Linked DNA regions of Homo sapiens: all the other regions are linked to region 1. The links are contacts of gene promoters, found by promoter capture Hi-C in human tissues and cell types (Jung and others, 2019). All regions are on one chromosome and are shown on one strand. The core of a region is centred on a gene start or on the middle of the fragment in contact, and the rest is flanking DNA. Distances in the headings are between cores, read along the strand shown. Region 1 holds the start of TIMP3 (TIMP metallopeptidase inhibitor 3). Region 2 overlaps LOC124905106 (a long non-coding RNA gene). Region 3 holds the start of SYN3 (synapsin III).

Evidence for each region. Contacts are between HindIII fragments. The study calls those that stand out against the background at their distance.
Region 2: a contact is called between a fragment that was not itself captured here and the fragment with the promoter of TIMP3 in region 1, in 1 of the 25 tissues and cell types used here (dorsolateral prefrontal cortex).
Region 3: a contact is called between the fragment with the promoter of SYN3 here and the fragment with the promoter of TIMP3 in region 1, in 1 of the 25 tissues and cell types used here (mesendoderm cells).

What each region holds. Positions count from the first base shown.
Region 1 is chr22:32,799,759-32,803,659 of GRCh38, forward strand. It overlaps TIMP3 (TIMP metallopeptidase inhibitor 3), which reads left to right and starts at 1,947. Exons shown (of 5, transcript NM_000362.5): 1 at 1,947-2,364. The coding sequence starts at 2,244. All of the region lies in intron 6 of SYN3 (synapsin III), which reads right to left. The HindIII fragment of the contact is 19,598 bases long and covers 1-3,901 here.
Region 2 is chr22:33,211,637-33,215,537 of GRCh38, forward strand. LOC124905106 (a long non-coding RNA gene) reads right to left here. Exons shown (of 2, transcript XR_007068071.1): 2 at 2,506-2,676. It also overlaps a transcript of LARGE1 not described here. Among named protein-coding and RNA genes, the nearest start is that of LARGE1-AS2, 49 kb to the left of the region's middle. The HindIII fragment of the contact is 5,851 bases long and covers 1-3,901 here.
Region 3 is chr22:33,056,684-33,060,584 of GRCh38, forward strand. SYN3 (synapsin III) reads right to left here and starts at 1,698. Exons shown (of 14, transcript NM_003490.4): 1 at 1,609-1,698. The HindIII fragment of the contact is 13,516 bases long and covers 1-3,901 here.

The DNA of each region.
Region 1 (3,901 bases), core at 697-3,196:
ACTCAGTCAGCTGTTGGCCACACCCATGCTCTCCAGTCTCCTGAGACCCTATTTGGTTCTGAGAGGGCTAAAAAGCAGTGTGGCTAAATATCCCAGGCCTCAAAGTATTCCTACTGTGGTTGGGGAAGCAATAGAATCATACCCCATAAAACAATGAAAACAGTGCTAGAAAAACATCGAGAGACAGAAACATCTCTACGAGTTAGGCCACAGTTAGAGTGAAGGCAGGGAAGGTTTTTAAAGCTGGGTGGAGGGGACAAGTCAAAAAGATGTGGAAACTGGTTTCCCTTTCCTATGGCTAAAGTGCTCAAAGGGGAAAAAGGAGTTTCAAAAATGTTCTTGGAAATACCATCTCTCACGAATTCTTCGGCCTCTGCTGTCCCAATGTCACTTGTCTGAGATGTAAACAGAGGAGTTCTGAGAAAGAAGCTGAACTTGCATTTCTCCCTGTTTCTATTTGTTCCAAACTTGTGGCATTTCTAACAGGATGAAGCGGAAGAGAAAGGGAAAGAGACAAAAGTGTAGAAAGATGGAAGATCCCAGCTGCAAATGGCCATTTGCAGTTAGATGGAACAGCTGCTGACGTTCAGGGAAATGCATGTCTCTCTTCAGATGGGAAGGAGCAGTGGAAAGGGGTGACGAGTTCCTGGCTGGCCACCAATCATCCCATCTTTCTGTGCCGGTTCCTCATCTGGAAAGTGGGAGTGATACTTGTGCTTGCTTTTCCTACCCACAAAGATTATTGTGAGAGCTATAATACGGTGAGATACAGAATCCTGCTTTTAAAAATACAAAGCAGAATCAAGATGTCAATAATAAGGATAGTAATTGTGTTAGTTATCTGCAATCATCTATTATAGCTAGTCGTCTAGGATCCTGGATCGTTCTCCTGGTTTTACTACAGTTTTGGATCAGCTCACCCCCAAATCCCTTGCTGAAGGGTGGAGCTCTGTCAGCCATGGGCAGGGAACCACTTCCTCTTGCCTTTCTACTTTCTGTCTTTCAAACATGCCCAGGGTCTTTGCACTTGCTGTTCCCCCTGCCTGGTACCTCTCTCCTGTGGCTTGCCCCAGAGCTGATCCTTGTCTTTGTCCACTTCTCAGCGAGGATGGCACTTCAGGGAGCCCTTCCCTTACTATCGCAGAGAGAGCAGGCCCTCCCCAGTCATGTCCAACCCAGAACTCTGTTTTGTTTTCTTCATAGCCCTAGCATCACAGAAAATCACCCTGTGCATTCATGGATGTCCACGGGGGCAAGGGCTTTGTGTTGCTTAACCCAGCATCCTGAACCGTGTTTGTTGAATGAATACAGAACCCCGTTTGCTCTGGGAGAGCACAGAAAACAGTCTTCTATCATATATCATAGCCAGCTGCAAACAGCAGATGGCTTCCCATATCCCAGAGAGTAAGAACCAGAGAGAGAGAGAAAGAGAGAGAGTTTGGGTCTTTCTCCTCTGTGCCTGCTCTCTCCAGAGAAACTGGAGGGGTAGCAGTTAGCATTCCCCCGCTGGTTCCACCAAGCACAGTCAAGGTCTCTAGGACATGGCCACCCCTCACCTGTGGAAGCGGTCCTGCTGGGGTGGGTGGGTGTTAGTTGGTTCTGGTTTGGGTCAGAGACACCCAGTGGCCCAGGTGGGCGTGGGGCCAGGGCGCAGACGAGAAGGGGCACGAGGGCTCCGCTCCGAGGACCCAGCGGCAAGCACCGGTCCCGGGCGCGCCCCAGCCCACCCACTCGCGTGCCCACGGCGGCATTATTCCCTATAAGGATCTGAACGATCCGGGGGCGGCCCCGCCCCGTTACCCCTTGCCCCCGGCCCCGCCCCCTTTTTGGAGGGCCGATGAGGTAATGCGGCTCTGCCATTGGTCTGAGGGGGCGGGCCCCAACAGCCCGAGGCGGGGTCCCCGGGGGCCCAGCGCTATATCACTCGGCCGCCCAGGCAGCGGCGCAGAGCGGGCAGCAGGCAGGCGGCGGGCGCTCAGACGGCTTCTCCTCCTCCTCTTGCTCCTCCAGCTCCTGCTCCTTCGCCGGGAGGCCGCCCGCCGAGTCCTGCGCCAGCGCCGAGGCAGCCTCGCTGCGCCCCATCCCGTCCCGCCGGGCACTCGGAGGGCAGCGCGCCGGAGGCCAAGGTTGCCCCGCACGGCCCGGCGGGCGAGCGAGCTCGGGCTGCAGCAGCCCCGCCGGCGGCGCGCACGGCAACTTTGGAGAGGCGAGCAGCAGCCCCGGCAGCGGCGGCAGCAGCGGCAATGACCCCTTGGCTCGGGCTCATCGTGCTCCTGGGCAGCTGGAGCCTGGGGGACTGGGGCGCCGAGGCGTGCACATGCTCGCCCAGCCACCCCCAGGACGCCTTCTGCAACTCCGACATCGGTAAGCGCTCCTGGTGCCCCGCCCGAGCCCCACGCTGCAGCCAGGACTGCAGCGCTGCTTAGGGAGGCAGGGCGAGCCCCACTCCTTTCCTCTGCCCCAGGAGAGGGGCAGACGGGGTTGGGGCGGAGTGGAGAAACTCGATGTCCTTGGGCGGGGGCGCTGGCATAGCTGAGAGGGGAAGATGCCCTGCAGAGGAAACTCACAGTGGCTGAGGGAGCCCCTGGCCGCCTTTGCTTTCCTAACTTAGGTCGTGAGGTTCCTACCGGTCCTTTTGACATCTGGAAAATGTCCCCATTCACTACTAACGGAGGAAGGGCTAGAAGAGAAGGGTGGGGAAAGGGTTCCCAAAACTTGGAATGCTAACTAAAGTGCTGGGAAATTGAATAGTTAAAAAAAAAAAAAAAAGTTGCCCGCCATGTGCACGGAAAGTTGCAGGAGAAACTTGGAGTACTCCGAGTCTGCATCATCTCCTGCGCCTATGAAATTCATTCTTTTCACTGAGACCCAACCCAGCTGCAGGCTTCCCAGGCAAGCGCTAACCGAGCTTCTGGGACTGCCAAGTTTGGGTGGATTTAAGGGGGAAAATGAGGAGAAAGCTGTGGCATTGACCCACGCCCTGGAGGCACTGTGTTTGAGAGTGTTGATAGCCAGCAGAAGGTGCGAGGGGTCACTCACCACATAGCTGTGAAAATTCACAGGAAGGCTATTTTTTTCCCCCTTGAATGTGTGTGGGGAGGGGGAGAATGGGTAGTGGAAAACAGATTTGTCACCAAAAGAACAAACCTGCCAAGGGTCACATCACGGTGACAGTTCCAGACTGGACTTAGTGTCTTGAGTAGAGAGACCCTGTAAAGAGACCTCCTACTCCTTAGTGTGTATGGAGGGCCCCGAGAGCATCCTGGGAGGCTTGTCTGGGAGTGTTTGGGACACTTGTGTTTGGATGGCTAAAGGTGGAGTGGCATCTGGGAAACATCTCTCTCCTCCTTTCCAGCCCATAAAGCGTGCAAGTCCAGTGGCTCTGCTGGGAGAGTGTGTGTGTGTGCACTGGGCTGGGCTGGGCGGTGGGGTGGGACAGCCTTGCCGCCCTCTGCCTGTGTCGATTCAGAGGTGAAGAATGGAGCGTGTGTGTTTTAAGTACAGTCATAAAGGAGAAGGAAATTTTCCACTGAGTCTTGGGTGAGGGACTCTACCAGCGTGTTGTGGTGAGGAGGGGGAGGAGGTAGGAGCTTGGCAGGGGAGGCAGTGAGGGCCGGGAGGGGCACTGCTGGTGGGCTGGGCTGAGCCTAGAGGTCAGAGTGGGGGTGTGGTGACCAGAATGTCAGTGCAGTTGGCAGCTGAGGGTGTTTGTGTGACCTGAGGTCACCCTTGTAAGAGGCTCCCTGGGGCCTGCATGGTACATCCTCCCCTCTCCTGGGGGAACCCAGCTGGCCCAGGATTTGTGGATTGCTTAGAAAGATCCTTTTGGGCAGCCTGAAGACTGGGGAGGGTTTTCCTCCCTCCTCCACCTCCACCCACATTCCACTTACCCTTTCCCTCC
Region 2 (3,901 bases), core at 417-2,916, 410 kb after region 1:
GTGGCACACACCTGTAGTCCCAGCTACTCGGGAGGCTGAGGCACGAGAATTGCTTGAACCCCAGAGACGGCGGCTGCAGTGAGCCGAGATCGCGCCACTACACTCCAGCCTGGGCAACAGAGTGAGACTCTGTCTCAAAGAAAAAAAAGTGCTGTGACTCCAGTGAATGCACACATGATAAGAAAGCCAAACAGCCTTATTGCTGATATTGAGAAAGTCTGAGTGATCTGAATAAAGATCAAACCAGCTGTATAACATTCCCTTAAACCAAAGCCTAATCCAGGGCAAGACCCTAACTCTCTTCAATTCTGTGAAGGCTGAGAGAGGTGAGGAAGCTGCAGAAGGAAGTTTGAAGCTAGCAGAGATTGGTTCATGAGGATTAAAGAAAGAAGTTGTCTCCATAACACCAAAAGTGCAAGGTGAAGCAGCAAGTGCTGATGGAGAAGCTGAAGTTATCCAGAAGATCCAGCTAAAATCACGGATGAAGGTGGCTCCACTAAACAACAGATTTTCAAGGTTAAAAAAAAAAAAGCCATCTAGGACTTTCTTAGCTAGAGAGAAGTCAATGCCTGGCTTCAAAGCTTCAAAGGACAGGCTGCCTCTCTTGTGAGGGGCTAATGTAGGTGGTGACTTCAAATAGAAGCCAGTACTCATTTACCATTCCAAAAACTTTAGGGCCCCTAGAATTATGCCATATCTATTCTGTCTGTGCTTTATAAATGGAACAACAAGCCTGGATAACAGCATATCATTTACAGCATGGTTTCCTGAATATTTTAAGCCCAGTGTTGAGAAATATTATTCAGAAAAAATATTTCTTTCAAAATATTACTGCTCATTCACAATGCTTCTGGTCATGCAACAGTTCTGAGGGAGATGTACAAGATTAATGTTGCTTTCATGTCTTTTAACACAACATCCATTCTGCAGCCCATGAATCAAGAAGTACATTTAACTTTCAAGTCTTCTTAAATAAGAAATACATTTCATAAGGCTATAGCTGCCATAGACAGTGATTCCTCTGATGAATCTGGGCAAAGTAAATTGAAAATCTTCTGGAAAGGATTCACCGTTCTAGATACTATTAAGAATATTTGTGGGCCGGGTGCGGTAGCTCATGCCTGTAATCCCAGCACTTTGGGAGGCCGAGACAGGTGGATCATGAGATCAGGAGATCGAGACCATCCTGGTTAACACGGTGAAACCCCGTCTCTACTAAAAATACAAAAAAATTAGCTGGGCGTGGTGGTGGGCACCTGTAATCTCAGCTACTTGGGAGGCTGAGGCAGGAGAATGGTGTGAACCCAGGAGGCGGGGTCTGCAGTGAGCCGAGATCGTGCCATTGCACTCCAGCCTGGGTGACAGAGCAAGACTCCGTCTGAAAAAAAAAAAAAAAGAATATTTGTGATTCATGGGAGGAGATCAAAATATCAACATTAATAGGAGTTTGGAAGAAGTTTATTCCAACCCTCAGGGATGAATTTGAGGGGTTCAAGATTTCAGTGGAAGAAGGAGTTGCAGCTGTGGAAATACCAAGAGAACTAGCATTAGAAGTAGCGTGTGAAGAGATGGAGTTGCTGCAGCCTCATAATAAAGCTTGAATGGATAACGCGTTGCTTCTTATGCATTAGCAAAGAAAGTGGTTTCTTGAGATAAAATCTACCCATGGTGAAGCTGCTGTGAACATTGTTAAAATGACAACGAGGTATTTAGAATATTACATAAACCTAAATGATGAAGCAGTGGCAGGGTTTCAGAGGATCAACTCCAATTTTGAAAGAAATTCTACTGTGGATAAAACGCTATCAAACAGCATCTCATGCTGCAGAAAATCTTTCATAAAAGGATGAGTTGATCAATGAGGCAAACTTCATTGTTGTCTTATTTTAACGAATTGCCACAGCCACCCCAGCTTCCAGCAACCGCCAACCTGTCAGTCAGCAGCCATCAATCATCAAGGCAAGATCATCCGCCAGCAAAAAGACGATGATTCACTGAAGGTTCAGATAATTGTTAACATTTTGGGGGCAATAAAAATTTAAAGTATATGTAAATTAAGGTCTATACTTTGTCTTTTTAAAATATAATGCAATTGCAAACTAAACAGACTGCAGTATACTGTAAACATTACTTTTATATGTACTGGGAAACCAAAAACTTTGTGTGACTCACTTTATTATGATATTTTCTTTTTCTTTTTTTTTTTGAGACGGAGTCTCACTCTGTCTGTCCCCCAGGCTGGAGTGCAGTGGCGCAATCTCCGCTCACTGCAGGCTCCGCCTCCCAAGTTCACGCCATTCTCCTGCTTCAGCCTCCTGAGCAACTGGGACTACAGCCGCCCGCCAGCACGCCTGGCTAATTTTTCATATTTTTAGTAGAGACAGCGTTTCACCGTACTAGCCAGGGTGGTCTTGATTTCCTGACCTCATGATCCACCTTCTTTATTGCAATGGTCAGGAATGGAATCTCCAATGTCTTCAAGGTGTACCTATGCCACAAACTGAGTAGCTTAAACAGTAGAAATTTATTTCTCACAGTTCTGGAGGCTACAAGTCCAAGATCAAGGTGTTTACATGGTTCCTTTCTTCTGGGGTCTCTCTTCTTCACTTGTAGATGGCCATCTTCTCCCTGTGTCTTCAGATGGGTTCTCTTTGTGTATCTGTGTCCTCGTCTCTTCTTCTTATAAGGACACAAGTAATACTGGATTAGGGCCCAACCTAAAGAACTAATCTTAACTTAATTGCCCTTTAAAGTCCTGTCTACTACTTCAACATACAAATTTGGGGGGCCGGGGGGAGCAAAATATATAAATAATAGGCATGTTTGGTCAGTGTGAGAAAGGTGCTCAAATAAAAAAATTCCTCTCCTTTCTTTTTCCCATCATGTATTTGGAGACACAGTCATTTAAGCAGCCCTTCTGAGAACGACCTCAGAGACCAAGGAATCTCCTGGCCCTTTACAAAGCTGTGGCCAGTCGCCAGCACACTCTTCTATCTGCTCTGCCTCCTTCCTTGCCACACTCTCTCTTTAATCTCATACCTACTTGGCTGAGAGAATGGTTCCCTACTGAAGTGTGTGCATGCAGGATTTTCCTTCAGGTTCCATTTTCGAGGGAGCCCGGTCTTTCACATGAAATTATCTGTTTTCGCCAACCTAAGGCAGAATTAGAATTTTCTGGGGCATTGACTTTGCGATGTGGCTTTATTCCTTTATGTTACAGCCTGGCCTCAGCTGGGACAGCTGAGGAGTGCTGGGCCAGAAAGCAGGGAGTAAAGACTTGAGGTGGCCCTGCACAGCAAACCCCAAGGTCCCACGAGCACCCTGGGTCCTCCTGGTGCCCTGGAAACCATTCTGCCCCCAAGGCCCTACTCTGGGCCTACAATGGGAGGGGGAGCCTCAAAAATCTCTGATATACTTTCAGGGGCATTCTTCCATTTTCTTGATGTCTAGAACCTGGCTTTCTTCTAGCAATACTAAACTCCATACCAAATGGTTAATTGGCCACACCTTGATTTTCTCTCCAAAATGTGCTTCTTTCTTTATATCCCTTGTAAGCTGTATTCCTAGGTATACAGCACTAAATGCCACCGTGCCCGGCCTTACAGTCCCTACTTTCTTGTGATTCTTGGAGTCACCTTTCAAGTAAACTACTTGCACCAGAGGTCTAGTTTCATGGTGTACTTTTAGGGGGAACCCAAACTAAGAGCATCACTTTATGTTTATAGGTTATTTATTTATTAATAACAGGTTGTTTCTATTTTTGCCCATTTTCCTATAGGGATGTTTATCTTTCCCTTTTTAACTCATAATAGTTATTGTATATACTAAATATTGACCTTAATTATTTATGTAGAGAGAGAATATTTTATCCCAGTTTGTGATTATCTTTCCACTTTTCAAT
Region 3 (3,901 bases), core at 448-2,947, 260 kb after region 1:
AAACCATGACAGGTGAGTACAATGATTTCCTTTTAAATCAGAAAAAGAAGGTTCATGAAGGTTGCTAATGTCCCCAAAGCCTATGGCTAAAGTGACTTTCTGGTCTGATTTCCCAGCGAGCCCTTGTTCTTTCTACTACACCAATCTACACACAGCCTTGCCTCCAATGGCTGAGACTGGATCTCTGTGAAACAGAAAGGGGAGCCCAGGCAGAGGGGAAGGGCACACAGAGGGCTTGAAGATGAGAAAAGAAGAGCAGAGGCACCCTTCAGAGGCCTGATGACAAGACTGAGGTCACAGGCTCCAGAAACAATATCAAAATGATGTGCAGGCTGCAGAAGCAAGCATTACACGGGCAGCATCTCTTTGCCTGAATCCATGTCCAGAAGCCAGGGAGCAGGGCTCCCGGGCAGAGGGGGCTCCCTTAAGCAGGGAAGAGTATTTGCAGCCAAGGACCAGAAAACAACTACAACTTACCAGCTTTCTGATGCTCCGGCCTCCATCCATTGTCCCCAGAGCTGCCAGAGGGACCTGATCACTGATCAGAATTCTTCCACGGCCCTCCTTCATTCCAGGATAAAATTCTAAATATTCTAAGGCTGCACTTTAAGGTCTGTGCAGGTTTTAGCTTCCTGCCATGTCGAGAGCTCATTTCCTACCTACAGCAAGACCCGGTCCTACTCCATTATCTGCTGTAGAATTATCTGATGTGCTAGGTCAGGACACCGGACCTTTTCAGTTTCTTTACCTTTACACAAGAAAACCCACCTGGAATTCCTGCTCCCTATCAACTCACAGTCCCAACACACTTTTCAGCCTGGCAAAACCTCCGACTTCCAGTCAATGCTCACCTCCTCTCTGAAACCTTCCTGGCTTCCTCACCGTCCTCTTCTCCATCTCGAGTCTTCCGCACTACCCTGCACTGCAATTGCTCCTCCTACTGTCCCTCTTAGCCCCAGAAGCTCCCCAAAGGCCATTCTTCATGCTGCTAGGGCTTGGCACAGTTCCTGGCACTCAGAAAAAGCCAAGTAAGTGCTGGATAGATACACGAGGTGCTGTATCCATAGCTATTCTCTGCTTCTAGCTTGGCCAGGAAACCACTCTGAAATTTCATCCTGCCCCCAGGATGACTGGAAATCGGAAATGGCATGACAAACCTGACCTCCCAAACCCAAGGCAACAGGTCATGAGGGGTCTGGGGACCTAAGGCAGGTCCTAGGAGCCGGCGCAGAGCAGAGGTCCGGCCGCTGCGGTTCCTGGTTTCCCGCAAGCTCTTCCCCGGGCCGGGCGCTGGGTGGAGGCAGTCTTAGGATCCACAGTCTTGCGCGCCCCCGGCTCCCGGGCCCGGCAGACGGCCCCCGCACGCCGATCTGTCTGTCCCAGGGACCGGCCCAGGGCCCCGGCAGCGGCAGCCTGGGGAGACACCGTGGTGCGCGGCTCCTTGCCTCCCTCCCTGCCCCTCCGTGCGCCCGCATCCCGCGGACACAGAGCCGGAGCTCCAGGGGACGCAGCCCGACGCGAGAACGCACCAGCAGCCCCCGCTCGAGGTGGGGTCTCCCGGCTGTCAGAAACCCCACAAAGTCTACTTTGCGGCGCCGCGCCGCTTACCGTGCGAGCCGCCAGGAACTCGGCGCCCGGTGGTGCCTCGGCGCGGCGCCCGCCAGTCGATCCGCTCCGGGTCCCGGGAGCTCAGCCTCTGCCCCTCAACGCGCGCGAGCGCCCCCGCCCGGCGGCCCGGCCTCCCCGCGCCGCGGCGCCCCATTGGCTCGGGCAACGAGGCCCCCGGACGGCCCCGCCCACCCGCGCCCACTCCCTCGCCCACGCCTCTCCCCAACGCCTTGCTGGGTTCACCTCTCCAGGCAGGGAAAGTTGCTTCTAGACTCTGAGCTCTCACCGGACTCAGGAGCCCAGTTAGCTAATAATTCTGGGTCCCAGGAGTGTCTAGACGCCCCTCGGGGAGTGCGAAGAATGCAGTGTCCTTGGAATCCACCTTTGGGAAAGTCAGCTGACCTCCCGGACCTCAGGTGGCACCTCAGAGAAACCAGGGCCCCTTGTCAGGAAATGTCCCAGGTTGTGGGCTAGGCCCTAGGGCCAGGATGCAACAGGGAACAAGACAAAGTCTATCGTCCTCGTGGACTTTGCATGGGGTGGAGGTGGGGGTAGGTTATATACAACAAACGAAAAAAACAAGAGAATGTCGGCTGGGTGCCTGTGGCTCACGCCTGTAATCCCAGCACTTTGGGAGGCCGAGGCAGGTGAATCACGAGGTCGGGAGTTCAAGACCAGCCTGGCCAAGATGATAAAACCCCGTCTCTACTAAAAATACAAAAATTAGCTGGGCATGGTGGCCCTCACCTGTAGTCCTAGCTACTCGGGAGGCTGAGGCAGAATTGCTTGGACCCGGGAGGTGGAAGTTACAGTAAGCCGAGTTAGAGCCACTGCACTCCAGCCTGGGCAACAGAGCTAGATGCCGTCTCCAAAAAAAAGAAAAGAAAAAGAAAGGGGTCTAGGACTGCTATACCTAGGGTGGTCTCCGGGCCGCTTGTGATATTGGATACTTGGAGGACAAAAACGATTCCAGGGCTGAAGCAAGAGCATTGCTGACAGAGGGGTCGGCCGATGCATGGTTCTGAAGCTGGAACTGGCCCCCAGGGTGGCTGAGTGAGGTGAGCAAGGGGAGAGTGGGTTACAGCCAGAGAGGTAGACTAGTGTGGAATCACCATCACCCAGAACCTTGTAGGCCACCGTGAGGGTCAGGGCTTTGTCATATCAATCTGGAGGGAACAATTCAGGCAAGAGATTATGGTGATGAAGACCAGGGTGGTGACAGCAAGATACGGAAAAGGTGGACCTCCTGCAATGTGTGTCAAAAGTAGCACAGGAAGGCTTGATGATGGATTAGGCTGGATTTAGGGGATGCTATGGTTTAAATATGTTCCCCAAAGTTCATATCTTGGAAACTTAATCCCCAATGCAACAGTGTTGAGAGGTGGGACCTTTAAGAGGTGATTCCATTAATGCCAGGAGTGGCCCTCTCCCCACCCCTCTGCTGCTCTCTTGTTCTGCCTTGTGCCATGGGGTGACTCAGCATGAAGGCCCTTACCAGATGCAGCCCCTCAATCTTGGACTTCCCAGCCTCCAGAGCCATGAGCTAAATAAATTGTTGTTCCTTATAAATTACCCAGTCTGTGATATTCTGTTATATTGGCACAAAATAGACTATGACAGGGGTTGACGTAAAGGGATGAAAGAAGAAAATCTCCTAGGTGTTTAGCTTGAGCCACTGTGGAGTAATGGTACTATTTCCAAGATCGGGAAGGTTCTTACCCAGCATCTTCCACTTACTGCATGAGCGTTAGTACATGATCTCAGTAACTAAGAGGGAGTGACTCTAACCTCAGTAACTAAGAGGGCATAAGACTAGCTGAAGGATCACAAACTTTAATACCGACGTGGCCGGGTAGTCATGTACTAAGTGAGGTTGGCAGGGTATAATAGAAAGGAGGGATGGGGCTTGTGACAGACTGAGGTATGCACACCTGCCTAAGGTGACAGTCACTGCTCAGCTCCAACTGATTTTTGCCATATGTGAATGGAGACCCACCCAGAGTTGCCAGATGTTCTGTTTTTTGTTTGTTTGTTTTTTATCGAGACTGAGTCCTGCTCTGTCACCCAGGCTAGAGTGCAGTGGTGCGATCTCAGCTCACCGCAACCTCCGCCTCCCTGGTTCAAGCAATTCTCCTGCCTCCCAAGCAGCTGGAATTACAGGCGCCCACCACCACGTCTGGCTAATTTGTGTATTTTTAGTAGAGACAGGGTTTCACCATGTTGGCCAGACTGGTCTCGAACTTCTAACCTCGTGATCTGCCCACCTTGGCCTCCCAAAGTGCTGGGATTATAG